Regions from separate parts of the Homo sapiens genome. Here region 2 is linked to region 1. Evidence: promoter capture Hi-C in 16 types of primary human blood cells and fetal thymus (Javierre and others, 2016). All regions are on one chromosome and are shown on one strand. The core of a region is centred on a gene start or on the middle of the fragment in contact, and the rest is flanking DNA. Distances in the headings are between cores, read along the strand shown. Region 1 holds the start of NCOA6 (nuclear receptor coactivator 6). Region 2 holds the start of TRPC4AP (transient receptor potential cation channel subfamily C member 4 associated protein).

Evidence for each region. The method cuts DNA at HindIII sites, captures the fragments that hold promoters and counts their contacts. A CHiCAGO score of 5 or more calls a contact.
Region 2: a contact is called between the fragment with the promoter of TRPC4AP here and the fragment with the promoter of NCOA6 in region 1, in 1 of 17 cell types (fetal thymus). The highest score is 5.5, in fetal thymus.

What each region holds. Positions count from the first base shown.
Region 1 is chr20:34,823,473-34,828,100 of GRCh38, reverse strand. NCOA6 (nuclear receptor coactivator 6) reads left to right here and starts at 2,450. Exons shown (of 15, transcript NM_014071.5): 1 at 2,450-2,629. RefSeq lists silencers at 2,344-2,533, 2,544-2,983. The HindIII fragment of the contact is 10,135 bases long and covers 2,046-4,628 here.
Region 2 is chr20:35,090,997-35,095,624 of GRCh38, reverse strand. TRPC4AP (transient receptor potential cation channel subfamily C member 4 associated protein) reads left to right here and starts at 2,818. Exons shown (of 19, transcript NM_015638.3): 1 at 2,818-3,011. The coding sequence starts at 2,844. RefSeq lists a silencer at 2,917-3,046 and an enhancer at 4,573-4,628. The HindIII fragment of the contact is 3,956 bases long and covers 771-4,628 here.

The DNA of each region.
Region 1 (4,628 bases), core at 1,201-3,700:
AACTCCTGGGCTCAAACAATCCACCTGCCTCAGCCTCCCAAAGTGTTGGGATTACAGGTGTGAGCCACTGCACCTGGCCATCAACAGATACTTTTAAGTAGAGTAGTGACATGATCATATTTCTGATCATTAGAAACATTACTCTGACAGCAGGGTGGAGAATAGATTAGAGGGCGGTCAGGGTAATGTGAAAAGATGGTGGGTATCTACTACACCAGTCCAAGCACACTGTGTGTACTCAATAAATATTGATGGAATGAAAGGGTTCCTGACTCCCTTTCTTCTATGGGATCAGTAGGACTGATTTGTTTAATTAGTTTACAATCCACCTGCTCATCCTCTATCTCCTGGGATGCTCAGAACAGACCCCAACTCCCATTTTACAGATGAAGATGCTCAAGTTCAGAGAGGCAAGGACAGCTATCAAGAGCGAAAGCCAAAGAGAGCTGCCATACAATCCAGCAATCCCATTCTTAGGTATACACCGGAAAGAAAGGAAATCAGTGTATGGAAGAGATCTGCACTCTCATGTTTACTGCATCCCTGTTCACAACAGCCAAGATTTGGAAGCAACCTAAGTGTCCATCAACAGATGAATGGATAAATAAAATGTACATATACACAATGGAATACTATTCCGCCATTAAAAAAGAGTGAGATCGTGTCATTTGCAACAATATGGATGGAACTGGAGGTCATTATGTTATGTGAAAGAAGCCGGGCACAGAAAGACAAACTTCACATGTTCTCACTTATTTGTGGGAGCAAAAAATTAACTATTTTTTATTTTTTTTTGAGACGGAGTCTCACTCAGCCACCTAGGCTGGAGTGCAGTGGCGCGAGCTAGGCTCACCGCAACCACCATCTCCCAGGTTCAAGAGATTCTCCCGTCTCAGCCTCCTGAGTAGCTGGGATTACAGGCACCCGCCATCATGCCCACCTAGCTTTTGTATTTTAGTAGAGACAGGGTTTCACCATGTTGGCCAGGCTGGTCTTGAACTCCTGACCTCAGGTGATCCGCCCATCTTGGCCTCCCAAAGTGCTAGGATTACAGGCGTGAGCCACCATGCCGGGCCAGGAGCGAAAAATTAAAACAATTGAACTCATGGAGATAGAGAATAGAAGGAGGGTTACCAGAGGCTGGTAAGATTAATGGGGAGGTAGGTGGGAAGTGGGAATGATTAACGGGTACAAAAGAATAGTTAGAAAGAATAAGACCTAGTATTTGCTAGCACAAGAAGGTGACTACAGTAAAAAACAATTGGCCGGGCGCGGTGGCTCACGCCTATAATCCCAGCACTTTGAGGGGCAGAGGCGGGCGGATCATGAGGTCAGGAGTTCCTGACCAGCCCGGCCAATATGGTGAAACCCCATCTCTACTTAAAAAATATACAAAAATTAGCTGGGCGTGGTGGCATGCGCCTGTAGTACCAGCTACTCAGGAGGCTGAGGCAGGCGAATCCCTTGAACCAGGGAGGCGGAAGTTGCAGTGAGCTGAGATCGCGCCACTGCACTCCAGCCTGGGCGACGGAGTGAGACTCCGTCTCAAAAAAACAAAAATAAAACAAAAAACAAAAAAAAAACCACACACACACAAAATTTACTTGTACATTTTAAAATAACTAGAGTATAATTGGGTTATTTGTAACACAAAGGATAAATGCTTGAGTTGCTAGATACCCCATTTACCATGATGTGATTACACATCGCATGCCTGTATCAAAATCTCATGTACCCCATAAATATATTCACCTACTACGTACTTACGAAAATTTAAAAAATACATCAGTGTAGTGTGGGAAAAAACAGAAAATTTTTAAAAAAGAGTGAAAGCCAGATATGAATCCAGGCCTGTATGACAGACATGAAGTCCAGTGCTGAGGAGGCCTTTCTACGTTTGGGAAGAGGGGAGGGGCCACACTCGTTCGATCAATAATTCTATTTACTGAGCATTTTAGCTTGCTAGGGAGGTAATGATGGGAAAAAGAAGAGAGGGATTTAGAGGCAAATAATAATGAAAGCTTTTATCTATATCCCATTAAGCTTATTATTAGACAGTATGTGTCAGGCACGGTGACAAGTGCTTTCCAAGCCCACCTCCATTTGCTCTTCACAAGCACTATGATTTTCCCCATATTTCAGATGGGTAAACTGAGGCTTGGAGTTGCCATGTCCAAGGATACTCAGAGCGCTCGCAAAAGACTGTGCAATGTGTGCTTCCGAAGTGGGACTCACTGGCGAGAGAATAGCCCTGGAAAGCCGACAGAGACCCACGAGATCCCAGCACTAAGCACTCAGCACCGAAGGGAGCTGGCGCGCGCTCCACCTCGCGCTCCCGGGGACGTCTGGTCACGTGGGCAATGCCCCGCCCCTCGAGTCCGCCCCGCCCCCTCTCGCGCTCCCTCCCTCTCTCCCTCCCTCCCCCTCCCTCCCCGGCCCGGTCCGGCCCATCCCCCTCCCCGCCGGCTCCGTGAGGCCCTGCCGGGTCGGGCTGCGGGCGGCCGGGCGCGGGCGGCGGGACAGACGGGCGCACGCGAGGACTGACGGACGGACGCACCGAGGGCGGCGGGCACGCACGGCCCGGGCCGGCGCTCCAAGGCCCGCCCGGGAGGGCCGGGGCCGCGCTCAGGTGAGGGGACGGCGGCGCGGGCCCGTAAGGGGTGGGCCCGCCGGGCGTCCGCGGTCCTTGTCGGGCTGGCTTCGCGGGGAGGAGGCGCCGCCCGGGCCCGCGCGGAAAAATGGCGCCGGGCGACCGAGTGGCACGGTCTGAGAGCGGGCCCGGCCCGGAGCCGCCCCGCCCGCCGCGCTTGTGTCCCCGTCGCCATGTTGGGGAGCGGGCCCCAGGCCTGCGGGCGGGGGCGCTGGAGGGAGCGGCGGCCGGGCTGGGTGGGGAGGGTGCTGGGCGCGGGGGCCGGTGCACTGAGGGAGTGCAGGGCTGGCCGGGGTCTGCACGGGGTGGCGCTCCAGGCCTGGGGAACAGGCGGGAGCCGGTCGTGGGGTCGTGGTCAGGGTCGCGGAGAAGGAACACTGGGTCCGAAGGGAACCGGGATTGGGGTCTATGGGCTGAGAGGATGGCAGGACGTGGAACTGGGTTAGGCCTTAGGCGGTGTTAGAGCCCTAATGCAGGTAGGACCTGGGGATTGGGGTGGAGGCATGGGGGCCAAGCTCAGGCTGTCAGGGCTGGAGCAGTTCTTTGCTGGGAGGGAAGGAGGTGATTGATGAGGAATGAGGGCCCTTTGGGTACAGACGCTGGTTCAGATTGGGGCAGTCCTTGGGGTACTGGGGCTGAATTGCAAAGCTGTATAACTCCCAAGGCTCTGAAGACTTATGTCCCAAGCATCCTCCACCCCCTCTTGGGGGAAGCAACAGGAAAAAGGAGGTGTTTGATGAGAGAAAAGGGGGACAAAGGGAGACTGAGGTTTGGGTGCAGGAGCTGGCCAGCAAAAGAGGCACAGAGAGTGGAACTGGTTGGCAAGGAAGGAGAGAACCTTTATCAACTTAGGGAGTTGTGTGTGTCTTTAAAAGGAGGGACCTGGCTGTTTGGGGGCGGTGACCCAAGGTGTCTTCCCTGGAAGGGGACAGCCCACAGCTTAAGAGCAGAGTCACCTGGAGAGGTCATCAGAAAGGCGTTATTGAAGCCAGTAAAATGGTGAAGAAGAGTGAATGTATAAAAACTACAAAGGCCTGAGAGATCAAGTAAAGATTTCAAATCAGGTAGTGATTTTAGCTGAAACATAGAAAGGTAAAGTTGACTTTTCAAGATCTTACAAGTTAGTGGCAGAGGGGTACTAGAAATTGTCGGCTGCTTCCTCACTAAACACATTGCCTTAAAGGAATTTGCTAGCTGGGAGAAAGGTGTTAAGAAATGAAGCATAACATTCTTGTGATGAAACTAAAAGCAAACAAACAAAAACAACAAGAAATGAAGCATAACAGTATATACCAGATAACTATTAAATTTGTTTTCTTCCTGTAATGAGTGTGGCAATACAAAGGCTGAAGGGAATACAAAAAAGTATAGGCAGCCAGTTATTTGGTATTTCCTGGTTCATCTCTAATTGTGCAAAGAAGTTATCTTTGAGACCTTCTAACTTTCTAGAGTTTTAAGAGGTGCTCCGGCCAGCCACAGTGGCTCACGCCTGTAATCCCAACACTTTGGGAGGCCAAGGTGGGAGGATTTCTTGAGCCCAGGAGCTGGCAGACCCCATCTCTACAAAAGAAATAAAAAAAATTAGCCACCTGATGTGGCTTGTACTTGTAGTCCCAGCTACTCAGGAGGCTGAGGTGGGAGGATCGCTTGAGCCTGGGAGGTCAAGGCTGCAATGAGCCATGCTATGGTCATTCCATGACATTCCTGCCTGGGCGACAGAGCAAGACACTGTCTAAAGAAAAAAAAAAAAGAGAGATGCTCCTTCTCTTCTAGGTGTTTACCACAAAGGAACACAAAATCCTAAAAAAGAAAAGTGAAAAATTGTAGACACCCAGAGTCTCTATTTTATTAATTGAAGTTGGATCATGTTAGAGAAGAATTCAAAGTTCGCATGGGCTATGGGAGAGTTCTGAAGGAAATATGCAAATTAGTCATGGAAAATAGGTCCAGGGCCCCATATAATCAAAGAGAATTAGCG
Region 2 (4,628 bases), core at 1,569-4,068, 270 kb before region 1:
ATGCCCTGTTTGTATCCCTGGAAATGCCTTTTCTTTTTATGTCTTTTTAAAGTTAATTTCACATATTAGAAGACTTTTTTTTCTTGAATCTAGAAATGATACATAGCTGGTGCAAAAAGTTATGAAAAGTATTGTTATTGAACCAAAGTGAGGGCTGCTTACCTGGTGCAGCAAAGCCACTGACATTGGGATTACAGCAAGAGAAAGTGAGGCATTTATTATTGCACTTGCTGCAGGGTGCCAAGCGAGGAGAATCAAACAGCTTATGCTTAAGACCTGAACTCCCTTATGGCTTACAGGGGTTTTATTTTATTTTTTTGAGACAGAGTCTTGCTCTGTCGCCCAGGCTGGAGTGCAGTGGTGCAATCTCAGCTCACTGCAACCTCTGCCTCCTGGGTTCAAGCGATTCTCCTGCCTCAGCTTCCCGAGTAGCTGGGATTACAGGCACGTGCCACCATGCCTGGCTAATTTTTGTATCTTTAGTAGAGACGGGGTTTTGCCGTTTTGGTCAGGCTGGTCTCGAACTCCTGACCTCAGGTGATCCACCTGCCTCGGCCACCCAAAGTGCTGGGATTATAGGTGTGAGCCACCGCGCCCAGCCGGCTTACAGGTTTTTAATGGCAGGAGGGCAGAGGCCACAGGCGAAGTCATAAATCAATACATAGGGGCTGTATATTGGTTCCACCTAAAAAGACAGGACATCTCCAACCAGGGGCCCACAAGTGGATTCAAAGATTTTCTGACTTGTAATTGGTTAAGGAGGTAAAGCTTTGTCTAAAAATTTGGGATCTGCAGAAAAGAATGTTAGCTCTGACTTATGGTCGTGTCCTCCTCCAGGCCCCCTAGGAAGAAATTTATAACAAAAAATAGAAGTCAAAGTTTAGTTCTCAGCTCTCCCTTATCTGAGTTTGCCTATCAGCAGATCCATTTGGTGGGGGTTCGAGTTTCTAAGAAACAACACTCAGGGACAAATTTTAAGATGTTATATTCAGTTTCTATAGGGAACAAAATATCTCCTGACTGTAACTTCTTTGGCTATTTTTTTTTTTTTTTCTGAGATGGAGTCTCATCCTGTCATCAAACTGGAGTGCAGTGGCGTGATCTCGGCTCACTGTGACCTCTGTCTCCAGGGTTCAAGTGATTCTCCTGCCTCAGCCTCCCAAGTAGCTGGGACTACAGGTGCATGCCACCACGCCCAGCTAATTTTTGCATTTTTAGTAGAGATGGGGTTTCACCATGTTGGCCAGGCTGGTCTCGAACTCCTGACCTCATGATCTGACTACCTCGGCCTCCCAAAGTGCTGGGATTACAGGTGTGAGCCACTGGGATTACAGGTGTGAGCCACTGCACCCGGCTGAGTTTATTTTTGTATAATGTGAGAGATGAGGATCCAGTTTCATTCTTCTGCATGTGGCTTGCCAGTTATCACCAGCTGTTGAATAGGGTGTCCTTTCCCCACTTTATGTTTTTGTTTGCTTTATCGAAGATCAGTTGGCTATAAGTATTTGGTTTTATACTGTGTTCTCTATTCTGTTCCATTGGTCTATGTGCCTATTTTTATACCAGTACCATGCTGTTTGGGTGACTATGGCCTTATTGTATAGATTGAAGTCAGGTAATGTGATGCCTCCAGATTTATTCTTTTTGCTTAGTCTTGCTTTGGACATGCAGGCTCTTTTTTGGTTCCATATGATTTTTAGGATTCTTTTTTCTAGTTCTATGAAGATGGATGGTGAGTCTACTCCTTTTAGATGGGGTGTGAGGATGGTAACCATAGTGCCAGTTCACCTGGGAGAGTCACTTTTATGCCTACCGTCCCGGTGTAATTATTTATTGTGTCTTTTCATTCTTTAAAGTGTTCTGGTTTGAGCAGTAAGTTACAGTCATCTTAGTTATGAGTCACAATCTTCACCATTCCCTGTTACATCACACTTAGCTCTCCTCTTTCATTTTTATTACAGGCCCCCTGCTAGGAAGGGAAAAAGTGTGTGTGTGTTGGGTGGGGGGAGTCAGTGCCATCCTGCCACAGAAGTTAGCTGAAAAAATGAGTATTAGAGACAACATGCTATCTGGTGGATAGAAATTAGGACAGGGTTTTCATCTGACAGAGAATATGATGTCACAATTTACTAATCCCTTTCCCTTCCATTATTTAATTTCACAACAACCTACCCAGTTACACAACTTATCCAGTTTGAGACTGCGTTTCTTTGTGTATGGATCTGCTGTCTTCCCCTGTAACCTGCATTTCGTGATAAAGGATCCCAGGCCGTTCTGCTCACCACTGTATCCCAGACACCCTCCCTTTCCCCTAGACATGGTTTGGTGTCGGGCGCAGAGAAAGCCCCAGGAACTACGATTGATCAGGCTCCCAGAATCTATAGATGGAGTGACCTGACGAGGACACAGGCGCAGTGGCAGAGCGCGATGACTTGGTCGATGTCCGCGGTGAGTCACGTGTAGAGAGAAGCAGGCAGGAAGCGGACTCGAGGGCCTGACTCCTGACCTGAAGCCCAGGATCATTTCTTGGCCAGCTGCCTGCATCCTGCCCAAATCGGCGAGAGAAATGGGAGAATGTGGACCTTGGGAGATTTCGCCGAAATGCTGGGCCCGGGGGCCAGAGAAACCGGCAGTGCAGGAAAGGCCACATCTCTTTTCCCACCTACCCCGCTGCCGCGCAGGACTACAATTCCCAGTAGCCTCCACGCCGCACACGGTCCCTGCCACGCGGCTTGCGCCTCCGCCGACGGCCCACTGGGGGCGCTGCGGCGACCCCTCCGCCGCCCCGTAGAAATCTCCGCGGCCCCGAGGCCGCTTGCTTCCTGTTTGTCCGACGAGGAGACATGGCGGCGGCGCCGGTAGCGGCTGGGTCTGGAGCCGGCCGAGGGAGACGGTCGGCAGCCACAGTGGCGGCTTGGGGCGGATGGGGCGGCCGGCCGCGGCCTGGTAACATTCTGCTGCAGCTGCGGCAGGGCCAGCTGACCGGCCGGGGCCTGGTCCGGGCGGTGCAGGTACGAGGCTGGACCAGGAGGGGCGGGGCGGGGCGGACCAGGCGGGAGCTGGCGGGGGGCCGGGGAAGAGGCCTTTCCAGGCCGCCGCTGGACGGGCCAAAGCCCTTTTGGCTGGCCGGAAGGCCTCCCTGTGAGCTGCCCGGACGCTCTCAGCTGCAGCGGGGCCGTGGGAAGCAGCTGGCTTGATGTCCCTTGTCAGGGGCCGAGCGGGGCTGGGCTGCTGTGGACACTGATGGCGTGTACGAACCCTGGGCCCAGTTTCTGGATCCTCCCTTCTTTGCGCCACGTCTACACGTCTGGGGGACCCTGTCGTGTTTGTTTTAGCCTCTGTGGGCCTCGAGTTTATCCCGTGTATTGGGCGTGGGGGAGGGGGTCATCATTGCAGCCCCCAAATGGTTCCCGAGCATTTCATAAATGTCATTTTCTCAGGCCTTTCCTTGACACTCTTTCCTTCCCCTTTCTAAAGTAGGTCCCCATTGTTATTCTGTCACAGCCGCGAATTCGTTTCGTTTACATTACTTTCTTAGTCTATAATTTCGTATTTCTTTGTTGTCTGCCTTTTTCTCGCCCGTCTCCCACATTAGGCTGAGTTCCAGCGGGTGCAGAGACTATATCTGGTTTGCTAGTGTAGAGCGTCACGGTTAAGAGGGACTCTGGAGTCAGGCCTGGGTTCAAAGCCCTGCTCCTCTCTCTTGCTTGGGCAGGTGACCTTTCTGTGCCTCAGTTTCCTCACTTGTAAGATGAAGATGAGAATTAGTAACCTACCTTTTAAGATTGTTGTGGAGATCAAAGGGGGCAATTGTGTAAAGCATTAGTGCATTTCTGGTGCATACTAAGGGCTGAAGGTAGTTAATATTAAGCATCTGACTTATAACAGGTGCCCAACATATGATTATTGTTATTTTTGAGTGAGCGAAGGACACTGCTTTAGGGTAAACCAGGTTGAATAGGACCTAGTCCACTACTTCTTCCACCCTCCCCCACCCCGAACCTTGCTAACACCTGTAAAACATTAGCTTTATTTAAAGACAGCTTTTTCATAAAAAGTTTGAAGGATACTCAAGAAACTGATAAAGTGGTTGGTGGGAGTGAGGTGGGAATTGGGCTAAAGGGGGAGAAAATGGGAGTGAGACTTTTCACAGTGTAACTTTATTTAAATTTAATTTGAATATCACTTCCTCAAATGACGAAAAGGATAGAATAAAATAAAGGCTAGGGGGTCTGTGTGTATGGAGGACTGTGGACGAAAGGAGCAGTTGTGAGTGAGAAATGTTTTCCTGGCCATCACACAACCATAGATGAGCAGCCTTTTTCCCCCTTGTGTTCTTAAGACCTGACTTAAGACCCTGTAATCCCAGCACTTTGGGAGGCCGAGGCAGGCAGATCGCTTGAATCCAGGAATTCGAGACCAGCCCAGGCAACACGGCAAAATCCTGTGTCTCCAAAAATTTAGCCGGGCATGGTGGTGGTGTGTGCCTGTGGGGAGGCTGAGGTGGGAGGATTACCTGAGCCTGGGAGGCGGAGATTGACAGAGTGAGACCCTGTCTCAAAAAAAAAAAAAAATCCTAGAAATACTTGCTCTTTCCTTCTTAAGCTAAGATACCTTACCGAGCTGGG